4 separate regions of the Homo sapiens genome follow, and regions 1, 3 and 4 are each linked to region 2. Evidence: promoter capture Hi-C in 16 types of primary human blood cells and fetal thymus (Javierre and others, 2016). All regions are on one chromosome and are shown on one strand. The core of a region is centred on a gene start or on the middle of the fragment in contact, and the rest is flanking DNA. Distances in the headings are between cores, read along the strand shown. Region 1 overlaps ADHFE1 (alcohol dehydrogenase iron containing 1). Region 2 holds the start of ARFGEF1 (ARF guanine nucleotide exchange factor 1). Region 3 overlaps C8orf44-SGK3 (C8orf44-SGK3 readthrough). Region 4 holds the start of RRS1 (regulator of ribosome synthesis 1).

Region 1 (6,127 bases), core at 657-3,156, 880 kb before region 2:
GTATACTTGATACATATCTGTGTCACTATGGGTCTGATTTCATTTCTTAAATTTTTGTGAAGAATGTGAATGGAGCTGCATCCCTAATTCGGTAGAATCATACTAGGTGTAAAGTTTGCTCTTCTGAGGTTCTCATGAAGAACTCTGATCCCTCAGTGGACCTCTCTTGAGCTAGCACATCAGATCCTAATAGGCCAAGGTCCTGTTCATTGCAATTCACCATAAAGCAGAGAGCTCAGAGCATGAGTGCTTGGTTGGTGGACCACACCATAGTCGCCATGCCCAGAATACTCCTTTAGTCCTCTTGGCCAATATGGGAAAGGCAGAGGTCACCTCAATGCTATGAGGGTATGAGGATAAGGATCTTCTGCCACAGGCTAAGGCATTCCCTGACCATGGAACAGAGTTAGCAGCTGAAACATCCACTCACACAGCAGCCTGCTTGCCACAAGTGCTGGTGCTTTTCCCTCACCCCACTCCAAGTAGGCAAGGGCCTCAAACTAGCTTCTTCCTCCCCACTTCGCTAGTGCTTAGAATGTTGACAGCCTCACCACTCACTTAAGATAATATTTATATAGATTGTGTTCATAGACTCATGTGTCCACAGGAGCCAGGTAGAGAATAGCAGTGAACAATGTCATGTAAGGCCTTAGGGAGTGGTGGGGACTTTGGTAAGCCAGAAAGCACGTGACCCATCTAACTGGGTGAGCAGCTCAGCTGCAGTTTATCATCACCAAGCAGAAGATCAGGTCCCAGTGTTGGTAGAACTACCAACTCTCAAGAAAAATCAGCAATCCGGATGTTTGTGTTGAATTCCCTGGTTTCCAATGCACAAATGAAATGTAGTCCGTGAACCACCAGTTTCCCTGATTTGGATTCAGGCTCAGTGAATTCAATTGCATCTACAAATAGAAATGAACAAGAAACAAAGGAGTCTCAAAGTATAGGAGAGACCCTGGGCTAACCCACAAACCCTTAATTCTAACCCATACGTCCAAGGGACCAAATCACTAAAAAAATCACACTCTCTAACGCCCTCACAGTTATTTTATCCAAGCCTACCAGCCTGTAAGTCCTGTGAGGGCAGGAATCTGTCTGCTTGGCTCATCCATTTTCCATTGCACCTAGCACAGGCTAGTAAACATGTTAAACGAACACATACCTCCATTCCTCTCCTCCTAAGTCCTCTGTCTAGGTAAGCTTTAATGGCTGACTGAGGATAACTTTTTGAAAAGTTTCCTTAGACTGACTAGGACTCAACCAAAGACAGGGGAGCCATGAAAGCTCAGGGACACCGTAGACTGAGTGGTCATAGTGATTTTTTCCGGAGGGAGGGACAGGGCTGGAGTGCAGTGGCATAATCACAGCTCACCACAGCCTTGACCTCCCAGGCTCAAGTGATCCTCTGTCCTCAGCCTCCCGAGTAGCCAGCACTATAGGTGTGTGCCACCATACCAGGCTAATTTTTTTAACTTTTTTGTACACAATAGGTCTCACTGTGTTACCCAGGCTGGTCTTGAATTCCTGAGCTCAAGCAATCCTCCTGCCTTGGCTTCCCAAAGTCCTAGGGTTATAGATATGAGCCACAGTGCCTGGCATTCACTGCAATTTTAATGTAGCTTCTGGCTTTATGGCATGGTCCCAGTGACACTGTCCACCCTGCAAGGGGCCTTCCAAAAGGTTCTGTTTGTTTAGCCCAGGAAAGTGTTCAGGAAAATGTGTGGGTCCATCTCTAAGAATGGTATCCATGATTTTCAGATGAAACTGTCTGATACCCTTGGCGATTTGATTGCTGACCATCAGTACACACTGACAGGTGTTTACTCTTCTAATTCTACTGTGGTCAGACTGTCACTTTCTTTTGTTTGTTTTGTTTTTTGTTTTTGAGACAGAGTTTCACTCTCATTGCCCAGGCTGGAGGGCAGTGGTGCAATCTTGGCTCACTGCAACCTCTGCCTGCCGGGTTCAAGTGATTCTCCTGCCTCAGCCTCCCGAGTAGCTGGTATTACAGGCACACACCACCATGCCCAGCTAATTTTTGTATTTTTACTAGAGACGAGGTTTCACCATGTTGGCCAGGCTGGTCTCAAACTCCTGACCTCAGGTGATCCGCCCACCTCAGCCTCCCAAAGTGCTGGGATTACAGGCGTGAGCCACCACAACTGGCCCAGACTGTCACTTTCAAAAGCTATTCCACGTAGCAGCAGATCCAGCTTAACATTTGAGACCACTAAAATAGCACTAAATTAACACTAAAATAGCAACTTAATTAGGTATCATTCTGAATGCCTCAGTGCACATGCAATACTGGGAAATCACAGATAGCAAAATCTTAATTGGACAAAACCAATTTCTTAGTTTTACAAAAATGGGAGGTAAATGGAATCTTTTGGATATAAGTTCTGTCTTAAAGTAGGAAGCCAGATTTTCCTCAGGCTGTATTCATAAAACACCCCAAGGCATCTGCTGCCTTTTTTCCTCTGATCATGTTTTCATGATTCAGAGAAATATAGTTAATTTTAATTAAACTAGCCCTAGGTTCATTTGGAGTCTACGTGATTGAGATATGTGTATATTCACAGATCGATAGGACTTTGGTAGGAATCTTAGAAATAAGCTTGTCCATTTTGCAGATGAATAACTACTATGGAATTTTGTTTGTTTGTTTGATGGCAGTGACTGTTTTACAGGAATGCTGTGGCCACTTCAGAGTTTTACACATGCAATAGACTAATCTTCGCTTATTAGTATCTCCAGGATTTAAGGTAGTGAGAAGAATATACTGGCTCCTCCAAAGAACGTCACCAGAAAGGTTATTCAATGTAGTTGACATTTGATGAAGGTTCTTTTCTGTTCAGCAGTGAAGGATTGGTTTTCTCTGGAAGAAACAACCAGGCCAGTATTCTTGACCAAACACAGCCCATACTGGTGGCAGCTAATAGCAGCCCTGTGTACAGAGGCTTTCAACTGCCATAGCCAGGCTGCAAGGGGAGCAGGCAAGAATATATTAATCTTCCAAGCTGGATTTCTAAAACCCCTGGAAAGAAACATTTACATTTCAAATCAAAACATTTCATTACTGAGGAGCGCTGTCTACCCAAATGAGCACTTCCACTCCCTGGTAGACAGGCCAGCTGAAATGTTGTTATTTCATGAACGTGCTAAAAGTAGATGTCTGAATTTATTTCGTTCCCATGTTAATGAGTTGTCCTTCACTCTTACATGCCTATAAATAATAGCACATCATTGCTTAACATATCTTAATTCTGAGAGAGTTTAGCTTTTTTATGGCAGAGCTGATATGTATAGGGACATATCACAAACTTTATGTCCTTGTCCTGTTTAACCAATCACTGGGGGCCAGAAACGCGAAACAGAAACTCAGCTCAGGCTTGGCTTCAAATACTTCTAAGAGTCCTGCACCGCTCCACCAAAGATAAACAGGATCATGTCAAGGGCCTTTGAGCTCATCAGATAAGACTCTCTCCCATTATGAACAACGTAACTTGCCATCATCTGCAGTTACAGCAAACACTGAACTTCAGTTCTTGACCCTGCACAAACACATACATAATGAGACCCTCTGCCTTGCTATGGATTTCCAAAATTCCTTAGGGTCTCTTAAAAATCTGCTGGGATGTGAAACTTTGTCTTTACCTCACCCATACTCATAGGCATTGTCCCTCACCCCTCTCTCATCTGTCCCTCTATCCTTTCTTCCTGCTTTAACTTATCTTTTAAATTGTGATAAAATATGTATAACATAAAATTTACCATTTTAACCATTTTTAAGTGTACAATGCCATGCCATTAAATACATGCACAATGTTGTGCAACCATCACCACTATCCATTTTCAGAACTCTTTTTTTAATCATGCCAAACAAGTGGTGTGTCTGTTAAACACGAATTCCCCGTTCTCCCCTTCTCACAGCCCCTGGGAACCTCTGTCCTACTTTCTGTCTCTATGAATTTGCCTATCCTAGGTACCTCATGTAAGTGAAATCATACAATATTTGTCCTTTTGTGACTGGCTTATTTCACCCAGCACAGTGCCTTTAGTGTTCATCCACGTTGTAGCATGTGTCAGAATTTTATTCCTTTTTTATAGCTGAATAATGTTCCATTGTATGGATATACTACATTTTGGTTATGCATTTACCTATTGATAGACACTTGGGTTGTTTCCACCTTTTGACTATTATGAATAATGCTGCGATGAATATTGGTGTACAAGTATCTATTTGAGTCCCTGCTTTCAATTCTTTGGGGTATATACCTAGGAGTAGAATTGTTGTATCATATAGTAACTCTATGTTTAACTTTCTGAGGAACTGCTAAACTGTTTTCTATAGTGGCTGCACCATTTTACATTTCCATTAACAGTGCACCAGGGCTTCAGTTTCTTCACATCCTCAACAACACTTGTTATTTTTCTTTTGTGTGTGTGTAATAGCCATTCTAATGGTGTGAAGTGGTATCTTATTGTTTTGATTTGCATTTCCCAAATGACTAAGGATGGTGAGCATCTTTTCATGTGCTTATTGGCTATGTATATATATATATTCTTTGGAGAAATAACTAATCAAGTCCTATGCCCATTTTTGAATTGAGCTGTTTGAGGTTTTTTGTTGGTGAGTTGCAAGAATAATTTTTTTCTTTTTTTGAGACGGATTCTTGCTCTGTCATCAGGCTGGAGTGCAGTGGTGCAATCTTGGCTCACTGCAACCTCCGCCTCCTGGGTTCAAGCAGTTCTCCTGCCTTAGCCTCCTGAGTAACTGGGACTACAGGCGTGCACCACCACACCCGGCTAATTTTTGTATTTTTAGTAGAGATGGGGTTTCACTGTGTTGGCCAGGATGGTCTCAATCTCTTGACCTCATGATCCACCCGCCTCGGCCTCCCAAAGTGCTGGGATTACAGGTGTGAGCCACTGTGCTCAACCAGAATAATTTTTATATCCTGAATATTAATCCCTTATCAGATATATGATTTGCAATTTTTTTTAATTTTGTTGTCTTTTCACTCTCTTGACCATGTCCTTTGATGCACAAAAGTTTTAAATTTTTATTCAGCCTAGTTTATCTGTTTTTTTTTTTCTTTTTTCCCTGTGCTTTTTCTTTTTTTTCTTTTAGAGACAGAGTCTTGCTCTGTTGGCCAGGCTGGAGTGCAGTGGTGCAATCTCGGCTCACTGCAATCTCCACCTCCCAGGCTCAAGCAATTCTCCTGCCTCAGCCTCCTGAGTAGGTGGGATTATAGCTGCCCACCACCACACCCAGCTGAATTTTTTTTTTTTTTTTTTTTTGTATTTTTAGTAGAGACAGGGTTTCACCATGTTGGCCAGGCTGGTCTCGAACTCCTGACCTCAAGTGATCCGCCTGCCTCAGCCTCCCAAAGTGCTGGGACCACCGCACTGGACTCCCTGTGCTTCTGGTGTTACATCCAAGAAATCATTGCCAAAGCCAATATTCCTAAAGATTTTTCCCTAATTATTCTTCTAAGAGTTTTAGGGTTCTAGCTCTTACATTTAGGTTTTTGATGCATTTTGAGCGAATTTTTTTAATACATCCATCCTTCTTTTCATTCCTTTTACCAGACAAAACAAATACCTACTGTATACCATGCATTGTACGGTATACTAAAAGAAGGAAAATAAAGTCCCTTTTCTCCTTTGTGAAGCTTACCTTCTAGTGAGGGGAGACAGTGAACATCTATAAATAAGATGTAAATGAAATCATTTCAGATAATGATTAGTGTATGAAGGAAAACCTGCATAAGGAGATAGAGAGTGATCTCACGGGGAAAGTGTGGAGAGATCTCCAGCCAGGGTGTTGGGAAGGTGCATGATGATAGGCCAATGCTTTCTAGGCAGAGGGGAAGGGCCCTGAGGCAGGGTCAACGTTAGCATATTCAAGGAACTTAAAAGGGATGGTGGGACTAAGTGAGGTGTTAGAGCTGGGGCAGGAAACAGAGCCAGATCGGGGTAGCCTTAGAGGCCATGGTTTTGTTGTAATTGCCACAGGCATTTATCTGCGAGCATTAAACACAGGAATGGTAGGATTCAGTTTATACTGGAAAAAAATCACTTTGGCTGCTGTGGGGAGAATGACCTCTGGGGGGCAAGAATG
Region 2 (5,665 bases), core at 618-3,117:
ATGAAATTTCTTCGACGTTTTTCATATTACCAATTTTAACGATCTAGGAAAAAAAAACTACAGTATATTACAGCAAATTAAATGGTAGTCTTCCATTTAATAATTAAAAGCTAATTTTAAGTTGTCTAGACTCCTTAACTCTAGCATACTTTAAGTTATTGTGGATTTTTCCCCTTTCAAGAATGCTTTTTTGTAAAGCCCATTTAACAAGCTTCCTTTTCTTGCCAATTTGACCTAGTGTATTTCCAGTGCTATAAAGTGTAAACATTAGGAATGTATCTTTGTGTTAAATGTTCTGGTCTCTCAAACGATTTCAACTTTGATGGATGCAATAGATCTAACAATGTTCCCCCTTTAACAACTCCTCATCTGCCTAACCTCATAGGTAGGAGGTATTGTTTGGATTTTCCCTGCTGCGGGCTTCATTACACTAGATCTCTTCCATCTGAACTATAAATCACAATTCAAGCTTGAGAGCAGCTGCCACTGTCCAGACATGTGGCTGGTGGGTGTCATTGTCTTTTTCATTTTCCTCATTTCAAACCCTCCCTTCCCTTGTCACCTAAAGCCATTTTATCTAAAGGTTCTTTGCTTCCCTGCTTTCATGCCGCCACCCCCACCCTCACCCCTTAACCACCGGTCTTGTTCTTCCAGGTCAGCCCAGTCAGATACAATATTACTCTATGTTTTTCCTGTGGCGGAGGCGGAGAGATGTCAGAACGGGCTGCACCTCTTGCAAACCCCTTCTCAAGACTGTCAACAAGGAAACAACTTCAGCAGCCTATCTCCCCAAAGTACCTCGCCAAACGAAAAAGTTATTGTTAATTATGATACGGAACCTTTCCCACACCCAATCTTGACATACCAGCCCCACCTCAATTTCCAAGCTAATAAACAACAGCTCATCTTCTGCTTCATCACAAAGGGTGGTATCCAGTCCGCACCTCACGGACCACCAACAAAATCCTCTCACTCTCAAGTCGATCCCTCGAACCCAGGTGCCCCGCGATCCTAAGCCCTGCCGCGTTTCCCGAGCCCAGCTCACTGCCCTTCCTCCTCTACCCCGCCTCTGCCCCACATCCAGCCGAGTTCCTGTCAACTCCAGACAGGGAACAGAGGGCTCCGCGAGGGCTTCCCGAGGTCAGAGGCGCGGGCCTCGGGCAAGCCCCGGGCGACCCCACCCCCCCACAGGCGCCCCCCTCCCCGCCCCACAACAAGCACCCCATCCCCCGGGCCTCCTCCCCGCTCACCTAACGCCACCTCGCAAGCTTTGCGCAGCTGGGAGTGATGCGCCTTCTTCACTTCCTTGTCGGCCAATATCTTCTCCAGAGCCCGGGTCAGGAACATGTTCTTCGTCTTCTTCCCCTCATACATGGACGCAGAGAAGGAGGCGGCGGCTCGTCCGACCCGCGGCTCCCAGCGGCTGGAGGGGAGGAGGAGGAGAGGAAGGAAGAGAAGAGAGAAAGGAGAGGGGGTGGAGGTGGGGGATTGGAGGCGTGGAGGGCAGCGGCAGGATCAGGAAGGGGCGGGCGAGCGGGACCAGCCGCGGTGTCGGCGAAGGGCGTCGAGGTCCTCGCCGCCCCCAAGAAGCCGTACCTCGAGGGCCGCGCCCGTCGGGCCTCCGCTTCTCCCGGCCCGGGGGTCGCGTCCCGGCCGCCCCTCTCACTCGTCCCTCCGGCCCTGGTGGCGGTGAGGGAGCCCGGCCCGGGCGGCTGTCTGCCGGGAACTGAGGGACGAGGTGGCGGCGGCTCTCAGAGGCACCGCGAGAGAAGGGCTACCCTGGCTACTGTGGGGATTAGCACCCGCCGCGGCCGCGAACTGGCCCCCATCACCGCCGACCTGCCCCGGCCGCCATGTTGGGAGGAAACGACGCGTCACGCAGCGGCCGAACGGCTGCAGACGAGGAAGCGGCGGCGGCGGCGGCGGCGGCGGCGCTCCCTGCCCAGAGCTGCCGCGGCGCCGGGAGGCTGGGGGCGGAGGGCGGCGCGGGAGGAGCGGCCCGAGCCGCAGCGCTACGGCGGCCCGGCGGGGCCTCCAGCGTTCGCCTGCAGGGCGGCGTGGGGCGTGGCGGGCCTCTGGTGGCACCGCGCCCAGCACTTCGGGCTCTTGGTGGCGGCCGAGCTGCGGGACCAGAGATCCCCCCACTCGGCACCCCTGCTCCTGCCGAGTGAACAGGACTCCTGGCTACTCTGCACTGGCTTTCTAACTTTCTGATGGGGGTGCAGTCCTTTGCATTCCAGGGGTCACAGCAACACCCGCATCGCCCGTTCTCAGCCGCAGGGTCTCCGCCTGCATCACTCGACTCTAAAATTTCCTTCCCTAGTGCACGGAACTGCTGTCCAGGACTCTGCTCTCCGACTACCTCAGGGAGGATTCTGTTTTGGGAAAAGTAAGCCAAAACCTATTGATAAGGGTTCAAAAATGTTTCACTTTTTTCTCTCTCTGTCGGATAAATCGGTCAACTCTAGATTTCAGGTCCCTTCTGAATTGACTCAGTTAAGGTGAATGGTTGTGAATGAGGTCCCTTAGAGTTCTGTGTTTCTGTGCCTTTAATACTAAGATTTAGTCCAGGACATGTAAACCAGTTTAGAATGGAAAAGCTTTAAGTACAAACAGATTAACACACGTGACCATGTGTTTGCTTTAGTCTGAGTGTAGAACTCAAATTTCTGCAGTATTTAATTTCTACAGTTTCCTTCTGAGCAGAAAAAGAATACCATAAAAATATTTGCAAACATTATATATGGTGATCTAGGGTCACGTCTCCAAGTTCTAAGCTTCTGTGGCTCCACGCACACAGGTTCCCTAATGTTTACTATGCATCTGTCACTGTTCTGTTCTATTAGATTGCCTTAACTATAGGCTTGTCCTAACGTAACCATCCAAACCTAAGGAAGGAGAAACTTAAGTGACTCTGTGAACTTAGTGAAGTGACCAGATTTAGGAAGGCTAAAACCCAGAGGAAATAAAATGGAAAACTTGAAGGTGACAAATTAAAGTGGAAAAATAGATTAATTTTTTTAAACTTTATTGTCCTGAGAAACAAATCTATAAATTCATTAATTTTATTTTAGAGACTATCTCTAGATTCCTGGAAATGAAGGATTCATTATACTCTTAGATCAGATATAATACTGATTTCTGTGTATACGTTAATAAACTTTTTTAGAACAAGTTCCATTTCTTTTATTTTTTTCTTCCCTTCTTTCACAGGTGTTGATCCATTTCTAATTCATCTTTGTTTCTTCATAATGGAGTGTTGTGCCAGGTACTGTTGAGGGTACTAGCTGATCACCAAACCCATTTACTCTTCTTTCTTAGTATAGAATTGCATTGTCCAGCCTCCCTTGAAGTTAGGTGTAGCCATCCAGGCTTAACCTATTGTTAAAAAACCAACAAGAAATTCCCACAAGCAATCTTTCATGCTGTTTCCCTTTTTTTTTTTTTTCTTTTGGTAGAGATGGCATCTCACCATGTTGAACTCGTGGCCTCAAGCGATCCTCCTGCCTCAGCCTCCCAGTGCTGAGATTACAGGCATAAGCCACCATGCCCAGTCTCTCTTTTCCCTTCTATGGCCACAGCTGAAGATGGCAGAACCACAAGTTAGGAGTCTTAGTTTCTGAATTGGAACTCTTGGAGAAGAACCATCTAGAATAACTATTTTGTACTTTACATGAACGAAGCAGACTCTTCGGTTATGTTTAGCTGTCAGCTTTATCGTAAAACATACTTGGGATTCATTGATGAACAAGACAAGCTGGCACCTGTAGTCCCAGCACTTTGGGAGGCCAAGGCAGGAGAATGGCTTGAGGCCGGGATTTGCAGATGAAACTGGGCAACGTAGCAAGACACTGTCTTTACAAAAAATAAAGAAAAATTAGCCAGGCACGGTGGCATCCACCTGTAGTTGCAGCTGCTCAGGAGACTGAGGAGGAAGGATCGCTTGAGCTCAGGAGTTCGAGGCTGCAGTGAACTATGATATGATAGTGCCACAGCATTCATAATCATCTCATCTGCTTGCCTTGCTTGTTGATTGGTTGCATGTTTCTCTCATAAGTGCAGGGACCTCATATCTCTGTCTATTCACTTCTGTGTGCCCATCATCTATTATATTGCTGGCATAGAGAAGGCCTTTGCTATAAACTTATAGAAACTTGGATAAATGAAAGGCACCAGGCTAAGACAAGCATGATACCTGCCCTTTTGGACCTTACAGTATAGAGTAGGGAAAAGATATTAAGTCAGTAGTGAATATACAATTACAAATCTGTTGAGTATGATTAAAGAATAGAGTGCTGTGAGAGAAGGGAGAAGTAAATTAAATTGAGACCTGAAAGAAGAGTAGACATTAGCCAAACTAAGTCATGAAGAACTTTCCAGGCAAAGTCTCTTGGGGTAGGGGGAAGCTTGGCAAGTTTCAGGAAACAAAACAAGGCAGTGTGGCTGAAAGGATCAAGGAGAATGGTGCCAGTCAGGATGAAGAGGGAGCTAGGAACCAGATCATTCAGACTCTCGTAGGCCATGTTAGGGGGTTGCAATTTCATCGTAATAACAATGGAAATTCATTGAAAGGTTTTAAAAGTGGGGGATAAAGTGATCAAATTGGTGATTTTAAAATAATCCCTCTGTTACATGGAGAATGGATTGGAGGGGGAGAAGTGAGGATGTGGCAAAACATTTTAAGAAATTTATTACAACAGCGCAGGATGGCTTGGTCAGGTCCAGGGCCACCAAGCAAGGTTGTGGAGATCGTGGCACAAGGGAGCAAGTGTGGCTGAAATCCAGCCCCACTGTCTGCCCAAAAGAAGAGGCTTCTTTCACTAATTTGCATAAAGGTTAGCCCAGAAATGACAGTGGTAGCATGGAGATGGAGCAAAGTAGACAGATTTGGGATATACTTTGGTGGCAGAATAAACCGGACTTAATTAACTGGAGTGCAGGTTAGAGAGAGAAAGAGGTCACAAATGAATACCAGGTTTCTGCTGGGAACCAGTGAACAGTTGGAAATGCCATTTGTAGAGATAGGCTAGATGGAAGATTTGAGGGTAAAGAGTGTAGTTGTCAGTTTCAGAAGAATAAACTCCTCTGAGATATGACCTAACCCTCCCAGAAGGAATGATTTGCATCTTCCTTTGGGAGGACAACTCATCCTCTTCCCTTGCTGGGTTTACCCAAAAGGTGGTGGTGCTTGAGGGTGGAGGGGGGTAGGAGTAGTCTTACGAGATGGGCACTCCTATCCACTTGAAACTCAAGATACTAACTCAGACCTGTAGCAAAAATAGAGTAAGACTCTAGAATAAAGCTGATGCTCTTGGATATTTTCAATCTTTTATTGACAGGTACACAGGGAGTGGCAAAGGAGATTTTTACATGAAATTATGAGTACAGACCAGGCACTGTGGCTCATTCCTGTAAACCCAGCACTTTGGGAGGCTGAGGCGGGTGGATCACCTGAGGTCAGGAGTTCAGGACCAGCCTGGCCAACATGGTGAAACCCCGTTTCTACTAAAAATACAAAATTAGGTGGGCGTGGTGGCGGGTGCCTGTAATCCCAGATACTCAGGAGGCTGAGATAGGAGAATCGCTTGAACCCAGGAGGCGGAGGTTGCAGTGAGCCAAGATCATGCTGCTGCACTCCAGCCGGAGCAACAGAGTGAGACTCGAT
Region 3 (6,076 bases), core at 661-3,160, 570 kb before region 2:
ACACACCCCCTCTAAATGTCGAGAAGCCCCAGGTACTGTCAAGTTTGTATATCCTTTAAAATATAGTTTGTGGTTCAGGACAGGAGGAGAAACCCGATAGTGAGCTTGCGGTGGGGCTTTACTTTTACTTTGTGTTATTCAGTTTGTAAGAAAGGTGTAGTAGAAACGGGACTGTTACTTAAACATGGACAGCAGGGGTTACGTAGGGAGTGTATCTTGGAGATGAAGCACGCAGACTTCGGAGCTAAAATCATGGTTTTGAATCTACTTATTAACTGCGAAAACTTGGGCAATTTGCCTAACTTTTCTATGCCTTAGTTTTAGCGTATGTAAAATGGGGATAATGATAGTTCTAACCATACAGCAGTTTTTGAAGATTAAATGAGTTAATACCTGGCTCATAGTCCACAATAAACTTTGGCTGTTTTCTTTGTTATGCATTCAGATGGGCATTAATCTCAAGAATTGTCATCACCGGAAAACCTACGTATATTCTTTCCTCAGAGCTGTTGCTAGAAATGCTTGGGGATTCCTTTGGAACAGTTTTCTTAGACCGAGTTCCACAAGAAAAGGTCTCTTACTTTTCTTTCACTAGGGGTGTTACCTGATGTGATCATCCACCTTGTTCCAAATCCCATCCACAGAAACTTCAGTCTCGAAGGCTGTTCCAAAACAGGGATCAAAAAAGAGGCAGCGCCTTTAAGGTGAATGTAGCCTCATTTTAAGCACCAAGTTCAGGCGGGTTTGTTTAAAAGCAGTTTATATCGCTTTATACAGAACTTTTAAGTTGTGCTATTTTGGGTGGATGCTTATTTGTACTATTATTGCAAAACTAAGTAAACCAGAGCACCCCCAATACATAAATAAACATCATAGGAACCATAGCTTGCTGCAGGGAATCTCAGAATTGAAAGGAATCTGAAAAATCAGACCAGCTGGTCTTTACAGATAAGGATGAGGCCAAAGACTCAGAATCAATAAATGGCAGAGCTTAGGCTAGAATTCAGCTCTGCTGATCAACAAAGTATAAAATCAAATGATGATGTTATTTCTAGTTTTGATGATAGTTACTATCTTTATCTTTGACAGTTTTATGGTTCTGTGAATGGCTTTCCTTTCCAGCACTATCCTGCTTGGTAGCTTAATTGCATGATTCATAATCATTCTTCAGTAGTACCTTTGATTTAAATCACAAGTCTCAAAGTTGCTACATTAATTATTGCTTTGAGAACAAGATGATTGTCTTCTTAAGCTTTGTACAAACATGTTCTAATGTGCTTTGGTTTTGTCCTTTTAAAATGCAGCCCTCTTCTCCCAGGTAGGGAATGTAAACAGCCAGTATAAACAAATTGACCTACTAGGCAGTTTTTTTATCGCTGTTTTATTGGCGAAGTTTTCTTGATTGGGTAGGAGTCAGGAAGTGGAACCCTGAATGCTCACCCAAGGAAGTAGGACTGGGTCCCAAAGAGATAATGTCACAATGTGGCTGCTAAGTTCAAAAGCATTGTGGAGTGAAATTATTTTGAGCTACTGTTTTGTTAGTTGCTGACTCTTCCCCAACTTTTTGTATAGCTCACTCCTTCACCTCTGGGTGTTTGTTTAGATGTTACCTTCCTATTTAAAATTGCATACAACACCACACTTATATATTGACCTATTGATTGACTTATTCATTATCTGTTGTCTGACATGAGAGCGTAAGTTCCATGTGGGTAAAGTTGTTTGCCAGTTGTGTTCACTGTTGTATCCTAAGTGCTTGGAAATAGTGCCTGGCACACAGGAGGTACCGAATTCATGGATCTGATGCAGACATTTCCAACAAGACTAGTAATTATTTACGCCAATTCACTGTCATTTTGCCCTATTTTCCCCTCCCTCCATTTTATTTATTCCTAGTTACCCAGGAATAAAATCTTGAGGCAATGTTAATTCTTTCTTCTACCTTTGTACCCCACATGCAAATAGCTACCACGTTATTTCATCTGTCATTTTTGTTGCAAACCTGCCTCTCCTGTTGTTGCCAAGCCCATTTCTTCATTCCCTTCATTTTAATTTGACACTTACAGCCCTGCAGTTCCCTTTTCAAGTGACTTCACATCCTTACCTGCAGAATGAAATCCAGAGTGAAAAGCCTGACATTCAGAATTCCCTACAACATGATTTAAAGCCCACTTTTACAGTCTGTATCTCCTATAGATGAAGAGATGAGTTCCAGTTTAGGTTTGTAAATATGACAGTAGAATTAAGGCTTTAATGGTGATGTCCTATAAAATCCCAAAATGAGTGTTGCTTCATGACAGTTTCTCTTTCTGTTTTTATTGATGAGTTAATCTTTTTCTCCGATGTGGGCAGGGATTTAGACATAGTGGACTAGTGGCTGTTGCCTGTTTCTAGTGAGGACTTCTGCTGCCCTTTCTGTTTTGAGTTCCCATTCTGCAAACCCCCCCTCACATGCGGCCCCTGCCGTTCCCTACCAAATATCTAGGTAAGTTCAGTTGGAAGTGGTTTTTTCTTTCTCTGAATGCTGGTGACTATCATAGAGAATTTAGCACAGTCTACTTTGAATTTGAAAGCTTCGGGCATTGGTCTTTTCTTCAGTGCTTCATGTCCTGGAGAACAAGAAGCATGCACACACACATTTCAGTTTCTTTTAAAGGAAAAATAAGACCCACATCTGCTTATCTGCTTCTTTTTCTTTTTTTCTTTTGTTATGGAGTCTCGCTTTGTTGCCCAGGCTGGAGTGAAGTGGTGGCGCGATCTCGGCACTTGGCAAGCTCCGCCTCCCGGGTTCACGCCATTCTCCTGCCTCAGAATCCGGAGTAGCTGGGACTACAGGCGCCCGCCACCACGCTCGGCTAATTTTTTGTATTTTTAGTAGAGACGGGGTTTCACCGTGTTAGCCAGGATGGTCTCGATCTCCTGACCTCATGATCGCCCGCCTCGGCCTCCCCAAGTGCCAGGATTACAGGCGTGAGCCACCGTGCCCAGCCACTTAACTGTTTTTTAAACAAACATGAACTTAAAATTATATCAAACAGACCTTTAAATCGTTAAATATTGAGCTTCAACAATTATTTCTACAGTATAGACAAATGAAGAAGATGACAAGGAAAAAGTCAGTACCAAGTAAAAAGATACAAATGAAGACACTGAGGTCTGGATTTATAGAGGGGAGTGGGTGTAGGGAGAGCAGCATGTCCAATACGCATGTAGATGGATAGGCAGATGTTTTTAAAAGTACGCAGTAAATTCAGGAAACCATCAGGAGAAGACAACTTTATTGAGCAATATCTGCAGCTTAGGATTTTGTGGAGTATTATTCCTAAAATATATTTTGTTTTTGTATTTCTAGACACATGGAATACTGTTTCTTTGCTTTGTTTCTATACTGGATAGGACTGAAGATTCTCTTTCTCTCTGGTCTGCAGAAAGTAATTTACTTTCTTTCCTTTCATTGTTTAATCTTAAAAAAAACTTCATACCTTTTTCCTGATTGTCCTGGATGTGTGGAGAAAGGTATATATGCCAGAAGTTTTTAGTCCTTCAGAAAAAGGTGGTAGATATGAGATACTTGAATTTACTATTGTTGAAGTTTATAGTTTTACTAAGTTTGATATCAGCATTTAACACATTTTGCTGAATTTTATATTACAAGCATATCCTTTCACATATTCCAGTTGAGTCAATGATTTTATTTTACTTGTGACTCAGATTAAAACTTGACTCGAGCTTGTGTAAATGTTTCTGTCACTTAATTTTATCTTTTCTCCTGTGGCCTTCCAAACCTCAACTGAAGTTTTTCCATTCTAGGGCATACATTAACTTATTTTTGTTGTTTTTGATTTTAGGTGCTTATAGATGTAGGTCTAAATTTATTTTACCGTTCCTAGAATGAAGCAGCAGTTTCTATTGTTAGGTAGGGGGGAGATATATATATATGTATATGTATGTGTGTGAATATATATATATATATATATATATATATATATATATATATAAAACACATTTTTTATATATATACGTTTTATACATATACACATATATACATTTTATACATATATATGTATAAAATTAGGGCATATATATATATACCCTAATTTTTGAAATGTTAAAATATTAAGGTAAAATTCTGCATGTTGTCTTTACTAATAACATAGCCACTGTAAGGTCAGGATTTGAAATTAAGTAGTATAATTTAAATAAGTATTATAATTTAAATATGTAATTGGTTGTAATTTTTGTGCTTTGGGAAATTTTTACTAATGTGATAATAGTTTTAGTGTCAGGAGAATTTTGAAAGCAAATATTTACTTGAGAGTAAAGTTTCCTTTATCACACTGCATAAGCATCTGTGTTTATCCTGAGTTCTCCTTGATTTTATAAAGCCTTAGTTAAGTGTGTTATCAGATAGAATCATTCATAAAAATAATAAAAAATGAGGGTACACATGCTGATATACTCCCAGCACATGGTAAACACTACATAAGTATCATTAAATAAGTAAATCTATATTTTTAGGGAGGATTTTATTAAGATACCATAGCATATTAGTACATATAGTACTTGGAGTGATCCAGTGAAGAGGCAGAAATTGATGATTCAGGAGACTGATGAAGGAATAATGAGGCATTGGTCACTGAACATCTCACTAGCACACTTTGGCAAGTTGGAATTTCTAAACGTCTCTCTCCACCTGTTGAATAAGTCAATGAAAGGTTTTATTAGGGCCTTCTAAGTGCATGGCAGTCAATAAGTCACAGTTCCCACACCCTAGTCAGGGAGGCTCTCAATAAGCAAGCAACTGAAATCCTAGTTGCAATCCATAAATGCTGAAATGGAAATAAACAACATGATGAGGGAGGATTAAGTTGGGGAGGGAGCACATTAAGGTGGCCATGAAGTTTGTTGGAAGAAGTGACTTTTGAACAAGGCCTTGGTGTTAAGAGCTGATGAGAGTGTCCCAGACAGAGGGGCCACTGGTACAATAGACGAGATGGGAGAGGGCTTGGAAGGTGTGCGAAATAGGAAGGAGTTTGTTCTGGTATGAGTCTAGTGAACACAGAGGCGAGAGGCCCTGGTGGGTGCAGCTGGAGAGTTATGCAGAATAACATTAGGCCCTGTGGGGGACTGTAGACTGTCAGCAATAATCCACAGTTTGGATTTTATTCTAAGAGTGATGGGAAGCCGTGGAAAGGGGGTTAAGCAAGGAGTGAAATTATCAGATTTACAGTGATAAAAATAAATTGGTCTGGCTACTGGGGAAAAAATGGATTGGAGGGAGTTTAGAATGGAAGCAGAGAGCAGGTTGGAGGTTCTCCCAAGAGACTCTATGAGACATGATGGTGATTTTTGTCTTTGTGGGTTTTGTTTTGTTTTGTTTTGTTGGGCCTGGACAATCTGAATTCTGCCAACCTCTTCAGTTCAGAACCAGCTTGACCGCAGGCCCCATCCATCTGCCAGTCACCACAGCCCTCTAGGAATTGGCCTTGGGCGTGTTGTATGTTCACATCTGCCTGTAAGATATGCTTGGAGTGTGCCTACAAATGGAAAAGCTTGGGAGTTTTGGAATACAGCAGGCATTCTGGTGGTTGGGAACCCAAGATAGTGACCTTGGGAGGCTGAGAAGGCTAGGACAGCCTTGCTGCCACTGCTACCATCTCTACCAGTCGGTTCTGGACCAAGTGGAGGGACATGACATGGTTGAAGTAAATTTAGGGCCTTCCTCCTTATCCTAGTAGTATTTTGTTTTTTTGTTTTTAAAGAGACGGGGTCTAGCTCTGTCACTCAGGATGGGAGTACATTGGTGCAATCATAGCTCACTGCAGCCTCAAACTCCTGGCCTCAAGCTGTCCTCCGGCCTCAGCCTCCCGAGTAGTTGAGATTAGAAGCATGAGCCACCATGCCTGGTTTATTTTAGCAGTTTTATCCCAGTGTGGAGAAAACAAAGGGCTGTCAGTGGTTACTTCCACTTCCTCACCGAGGCCCTTCTCTAAATGTCTGTAATAAAATGGAGCTGGCTCATGTGACTTTAGTTGAGGTTCTTGGACACTCTTCTCAAGTTGTTGGTGCACAACAC
Region 4 (6,002 bases), core at 3,490-5,989, 910 kb before region 2:
ATCCAAGTTAATGTGGCATCAAAGAATGAAAAGGAAATTTCTTACAAAAATGTTTTACTGACCAAAGTAGTTATGTTTTGAGGGAACATGAAAGGTATTGCTTTCATGGCTTTAACCTTCTTATTCCTGCTTTGGGAAAAACTCTCCCTTCCAGGTTCACTTTACAATAATTGCTGCTTTTTCTGCCCTGCACCTCACCTCACTTTTCCCTTTCTTGAGGAATGTTCTTAAGGCTCTAGAGAGAGCTAAGATAGAAAATAAGAGTGGGAAAGAAATACTTGGAAAACAAGCATAAGGAGGACTATCATGACATGTGACTACAAAAAAAGTTGCTTGGGGCCAGATCATAAACATCCAAGACCAAGAATAGTCATTATTTCATTAAGGAGAAAGGAGGGTCTTTGAGAAGAGTGATTTGGCCAGATGCACAAAAGGTAAAGCTTCAGGACTGCCCTGAAAAGAGTATGGAAGCAGGAAATGTTGGGATGCTCCTAGGATGGTTCCCAGGATATCAGTCAGGGCAGCAAACAGGCAGTGGTCAAGCTGGGTAATTTAAGAAAGATAAACAAAGAATACTTGCAGAGATGTGGGCAGTTTAAGGAAACTGACAATAACGGTAGTGCTGCATTAGCAGAGAACTATAATCACTCCTAGGCCTGCAGCAACCAAGGGAGCAGCTAGAGGAGCAGGAGGAAGATGGCTGCGTGGACAGGGCTACCTGATGGGAGCTGTGGCCTTTTGATGGACTTTTGATGGCAATCTGCATGCGTGCCCTCACTCTCTTCACGCCTTCTGATCTTCTGTCACTGCCCCTGCTGGCCAAACCCAGTTGGAAGCCAGGGACAGAGTGGAGAAAGAATATGGAGAAGCAGATGAAAGAGATCCAGTCTAGGAAAATAGTGGCAAGGTCATGGCAGTGGGAATGGAAAAGGTACAATATAGAGATAAGCCAAACAAGACTTTTACATTGATTGGATTTGGAGATAGGAAGAGAAAAGTCAAGGATGATGTCATAGTTTCAAGCCCAAGCTCTAGACTAGAATGATGATAACATCAACTCAATGTCGGCATAGTGCCTCAGGCATCAAAGGCCTTCTATAAACATTTCCTGGGAGAAAAAGAGGGGAGGGATGGACGGATGGATGGATGGATGGATGGATGGATGGATGGATGGATGGATGAAGGAGAAGCAAATCTGGGAGATGATGATATGTTATGTCGTTTTAGCCATATTGAGTTTAGAATATGGCGGAAAAGCCCAGTAGGTAGTTGAAGATTAAATCCTAGAGCTCCGAAAAAGAAAGAAAAATGTACCTGTAAGAACCAGCTGCACAAAAGTGGTAGCTGGCACCATGCAAGTGGATGACATGTCACAGGGAGCACATAGAGAGAAAAAGTGGGATCTGATGACCAAACTTAGGATCTCTCTGTATTTACGGGATATAAGGAAGAAGGGAAACCAACAAAAGAAAAAGACAATATATACCACCATTTGCTGTACTATTAATATATATTCATATATATTTATACATCTCTGGTAGGCCTCCTTTTTCTTTTTTTAATGAAGGAGGTTTTTATTTATTTATTTCAGAATCAGGAGATGCTCTGTTGCCCAGGCTGCAGTGCAGTGGCACCATCACAGCTCAGTGTAACTTCAAACTCCTGGGCTCAAGGGAGCCTTCCTCAGCCTCCTGAGTAGCTGGGACTACAAACGCATGCCACTACAGCCAGCTAATTTTTTTACTTTTTGTAGAGACGGGGTCTCACCATCTTATTCACGCTGGTCTCAAACTCCTGGTCTCAAGGGATCTTCCCGCCTTGGCCTCCCAGTGTTCTGAGATTACAGGTGTGAGCCACCACGCCTGGCCAGAGCCTGCTTTCTCTGGGCACTGTATAGTCTTGCCTAAAATAAGAATGATACAAATGCAACCTGGAGACCACAACTTACCCACTTACCTCAGTAAGATTTTTTTTAAGCCCGAAATCCCAATCTTACTGTTTTTGCTCACCTTGAATCTAACACAATCAATAGTAATAACCTTTAATTAGATAACCCTATAGTGTTTATGCTTTTAAACAATCATTTTGTTGAATGCCTAATATGTGCCCAGCACTATGTGGAAGTAAAAATCAGTCTCTAGTCTTCAAGGAAATTAAAATCAGTTTAGACTATAAAAAACCACTGAATATGGCTGGGCAAGGTCGTTCACGCCTGTAATCCTACCACTTTGAAAGGCCAAGGTAGGTGGATCACTTGAGCTCAGGAGTTTGAGACCAGCCTGGGTTACATGGCAAAACCTGGCTCTACAAAAAATACACACACACACATGCACACAAAGAGCCAGGTGTAGTGGCACGTGCCTGTAGTCCCAGCTACTTAGGGGGCTGAGGCAGGAGGTCCACTTGAACCCAGGAGGTTGAGGCTGCAGTGAGCCAAGATCGTGCCACTGCACTCCGGCCTGGGTGACAAAGTGAGACCCTGTCTAAAAAAAAAAAAAAAAAAAAAACACTGAACATAAAACAGAGTTCAATTAAGAGCTGACCTGTATGATCCAGATCATACCATTTAACACTTGTCAACCTATGCTCTTTTTTTCCCAATTCAGAAGATTGACAGAGAAGCTAACTCCTACATAACTGGTACTTCCTATTAAAGGTCCAATGACGTTACATTATATAGTCAATTTCTTTTTACCTTTCTTCCCCAGTATTCCATAAGGTCTCAGTTATCTTTGCACCTAGTGTCTGCCACATGGTAGCCATTCAATTAAATGTTTGTCAAGTGAATGAATGAATGAGAAACCAAGCCAAGCCCATAGCAGTCATATCAATACACTCAACTCTCTCCTATGGCAAATCCCAAAGGTTTAAGGCTCAAGGCAGTTAGCTAATATGGTCTTTGACCTAGCCTTGGCTACATGGGATGACTGATGTTAAAGCCTTGATGCTGAATGTTAAAGTAGGTTCAAGGGGAAAAAAAAAACAGCAAATTCTAAAATGCTTCTGGATGAGAAAGGCTAGCACAATGCTGAAACTAAACTGAGTCTATTTGCTAATTGCTATTAAGTTAATTTCATTGGTTAATTCTCCAGCATAACCCCCTCTAGGATAAACCTGGCCCCCAGTGAAAGGAAGATAAACCCTGTAAACCACGCAATCAACAGTGCCTCTGATACTCAAATGTACATCCTAGTCACCTACAGATCTTATTAAAATAAAGGTTCTGATAAATTACATCTAGAGTGAGGCCTGACGTTCTGCATTTCCAACAAGCTCCCAGGGGATATTATGCTGCTGGTATGCAGACCACACTTTAATGAGTATCAAGAGCTTGGACGACATTGCAGAGAATAGATCTACAGACTTAAAACCAGAGTTAAGATATCTCTTGTTCTTATATTCCCTAACTGCATAACTTTAGATAAGTCATTTCACCTCTCTGAGCCCTCCTTGTTTCATCTGTGAAAATAATATAGTTAATACAATAATTAATAACATAGTTAATACTAATAGCTAACACATACTGAGTTCTTACCATGTAGCAGTAACTAATGTTTTATGTTTGTCAATTTATAAATAAGGCTTAGATCAAACATCCTCTCCAAGTAATGGTGACCTGATACCTGATTGTAGGCCGTTTGACTCATACTTAACACCATGTAGCACTTACCTCCCAGAGCCTATGAAAATGAAATAATAATCGGTATTTGGCTAATTTGTACTGAGTACTCATACGCTCCAGGCCCTCGTCTAACCCTCCCTTGGACGATATTAACTCATTTATCTTATAACCACCCTAGGAAGTATTATTATCATTATCTCGCAGGCCTTAAAACGGCCTCAACAAGTAAAATTGCTGAAGGACCAACAGTGGCACAGTCAGGATTGGAACCCAGGCAGTGTAACTGCAGAGCGTGGCTTAGTTTCAGCACTGTACTAGATTAATTGAACTAGACTAGGTTCTGTAACTGCAGAATCCCGGATCTCCGAGTCAGCTAGCTCACTAGGGTCGGTGCACACCCGCGCCCACTCGGGGTGGCTTCATTGCCAGAGCCACTGACTCCCAAAACAAAACGAATCTTCTACAATTAGCTCTATGTGTATCTTTGGGATGTTATCTTTCTCGGGCCACAACTAGGAACCCTGAAAGCCGACTATGACTCCAGTGAAACTATTTGGCCCTAAGAAGGGTGATTGTCTAAACATCTTCACAACGGATTTACACTGAAATTGTAACACGCACTTGATTGGAACCCCACACCACAGGCAGTCCCAGGAATTTGTACCCGCCCCGGTCCCGGACCGCGCCCCTGGACAAACCCTCCGGCCCGCCCCTCCGGATTGAGCCCCAAGACTGTCCCCGGACCACCATCCTAAGACCACTCCCTGAACTGCCCCCCCCAAGACCGCCCCCTAGATCGCCCCCCGGGACCGCCCTCTCTAGACCGCCTGCGAGACTGTCCCCGGACCGCCCCCTGGACCACCCCCTAGGCGGCCCCCCGAGCTGTCCCTGGACCGCCCTCTAGACCGCCTCCCGCCCCCTGCATCCTGGGAATCGTAGTCCCAATCCTGCTCTGGAACTAGCAGTGCGGCCTGCTCGGGCCAGCTCCGCCTCTATCTGGCGCCAGCCTAAAGGTCCCGCTTCTAATCCCATCATCTCTCCATACCGCCCTCTGCCGGCCTTTCCTCTGGTCGCCCGGATTGCGAGCCGCTTCCGGACGCTCCGGAAGCGAACCTTTCTTTTCCGGATTGGGCATCCCGGCATCTGCACGTGGTTATGCTGCCGGAGTTTGGGCCGCCACTGTAGGAAAAGTAACTTCAGCTGCAGCCCCAAAGCGAGTGAGCCGAGCCGGAGCCATGGAGGGCCAGAGCGTGGAGGAGCTGCTCGCAAAGGCAGAGCAGGACGAGGCAGAGAAGTTGCAACGCATCACGGTGCACAAGGAGCTGGAGCTGCAGTTTGACCTGGGCAACCTGCTGGCGTCGGACCGGAACCCCCCGACCGGGCTGCGGTGCGCCGGACCCACGCCGGAGGCCGAGCTACAGGCCCTGGCGCGGGACAACACGCAACTGCTCATCAACCAGCTGTGGCAGCTGCCCACGGAGCGCGTGGAAGAGGCGATAGTGGCGCGGCTGCCGGAGCCCACCACACGCCTGCCGCGAGAGAAGCCTCTGCCCCGACCGCGGCCACTTACACGCTGGCAGCAGTTCGCGCGCCTCAAGGGCATCCGTCCCAAGAAGAAGACCAACCTGGTGTGGGACGAGGTGAGTGGCCAGTGGCGGCGGCGCTGGGGCTACCAGCGCGCCCGGGACGACACCAAAGAATGGCTGATTGAGGTGCCCGGCAATGCCGACCCCTTGGAGGACCAGTTCGCCAAGCGGATTCAGGCCAAGAAGGAAAGGGTGGCCAAGAACGAGCTGAACCGGCTGCGTAACCTGGCCCGCGCGCACAAGATGCAGCTGCCCAGCGCGGCCGGCTTGCACCCTACCGGACACCAGAGTAAGGAGGAGCTGGGCCGCGCCATGCAAGTGGCCAAGGTCTCCACCGCCTCTGTGGGGCGCTTTCAGGAGCGCCTCCCCAAGGAGAAGGTGCCCCGGGGCTCCGGCAAGAAAAGGAAGTTTCAACCCCTTTTCGGGGACTTTGCAGCCGAGAAAAAGAACCAGTTGGAGCTGCTTCGTGTCATGAACAGCAAGAAGCCTCAGCTGGATGTGACTAGGGCCACCAATAAGCAGATGAGGGAGGAGGACCAGGAGGAGGCCGCCAAGAGGAGGAAAATGAGCCAGAAGGGCAAGAGAAAGGGAGGCCGGCAGGGGCCTGGGGGCAAGAGGAAAGGGGGCCCGCCCAGCCAGGGAGGGAAGAGGAAAGGGGGCTTGGGAGGCAAGATGAATTCTGGGCCGCCTGGCTTGGGTGGCAAGAGAAAAGGAGGACAGCGCCCAGGAGGAAAGAGGAGGAAGTAATAGTTTCTAACTGTCGGACCCGTCTGTAAACCAAGGACTATGAATAC

The links. The method cuts DNA at HindIII sites, captures the fragments that hold promoters and counts their contacts. A CHiCAGO score of 5 or more calls a contact.
Region 1: a contact is called between a fragment that was not itself captured here and the fragment with the promoter of ARFGEF1 in region 2, in 1 of 17 cell types (endothelial precursors). The highest score is 5.2, in endothelial precursors.
Region 3: a fragment that was not itself captured here is called in contact with the fragment with the promoter of ARFGEF1 in region 2 in 2 of 17 cell types (fetal thymus and activated CD4 T cells); the score reaches 9.9 in fetal thymus.
Region 4: a contact is called between the fragment with the promoter of RRS1 here and the fragment with the promoter of ARFGEF1 in region 2, in 2 of 17 cell types (fetal thymus and total CD8 T cells). The highest score is 7.6, in fetal thymus.

Annotation. Positions count from the first base shown.
Region 1 is chr8:66,460,954-66,467,080 of GRCh38, forward strand. All of the region lies in intron 13 of ADHFE1 (alcohol dehydrogenase iron containing 1), which reads left to right. Among named protein-coding and RNA genes, the nearest start is that of VXN, 30 kb to the right of the region's middle. The HindIII fragment of the contact is 1,417 bases long and covers 1,199-2,615 here.
Region 2 is chr8:67,341,914-67,347,578 of GRCh38, forward strand. ARFGEF1 (ARF guanine nucleotide exchange factor 1) reads right to left here and starts at 1,868. Exons shown (of 39, transcript NM_006421.5): 1 at 1,251-1,868. The coding sequence starts at 1,374. It overlaps ARFGEF1-DT (ARFGEF1 divergent transcript), which reads left to right and starts at 1,921. Exons shown (of 5, transcript NR_136224.1): 1 at 1,921-2,389. RefSeq lists an enhancer at 882-1,562 and silencers at 1,489-1,718, 1,899-2,158. The HindIII fragment of the contact is 1,332 bases long and covers 1,267-2,598 here.
Region 3 is chr8:66,775,605-66,781,680 of GRCh38, forward strand. The region is part of intron 3 of C8orf44-SGK3 (C8orf44-SGK3 readthrough); the gene reads left to right. The region is part of intron 1 of SGK3 (serum/glucocorticoid regulated kinase family member 3); the gene reads left to right. Among named protein-coding and RNA genes, the nearest start is that of SGK3, 66 kb to the left of the region's middle. RefSeq lists an enhancer at 2,334-2,835. The HindIII fragment of the contact is 1,321 bases long and covers 1,251-2,571 here.
Region 4 is chr8:66,424,275-66,430,276 of GRCh38, forward strand. It overlaps RRS1 (regulator of ribosome synthesis 1), which reads left to right and starts at 4,740. Exons shown (of 1, transcript NM_015169.4): 1 at 4,740-6,002. The coding sequence starts at 4,858. The coding sequence ends at 5,955. It overlaps RRS1-DT (RRS1 divergent transcript), which reads right to left and starts at 4,703. Exons shown (of 3, transcript NR_040434.1): 1 at 4,668-4,703; 2 at 1,768-1,903. The region is part of intron 1 of LOC102724687 (a long non-coding RNA gene); the gene reads right to left. RefSeq lists enhancers at 4,129-4,198, 4,619-4,988 and a silencer at 4,389-4,478. The HindIII fragment of the contact is 6,678 bases long and covers 439-6,002 here.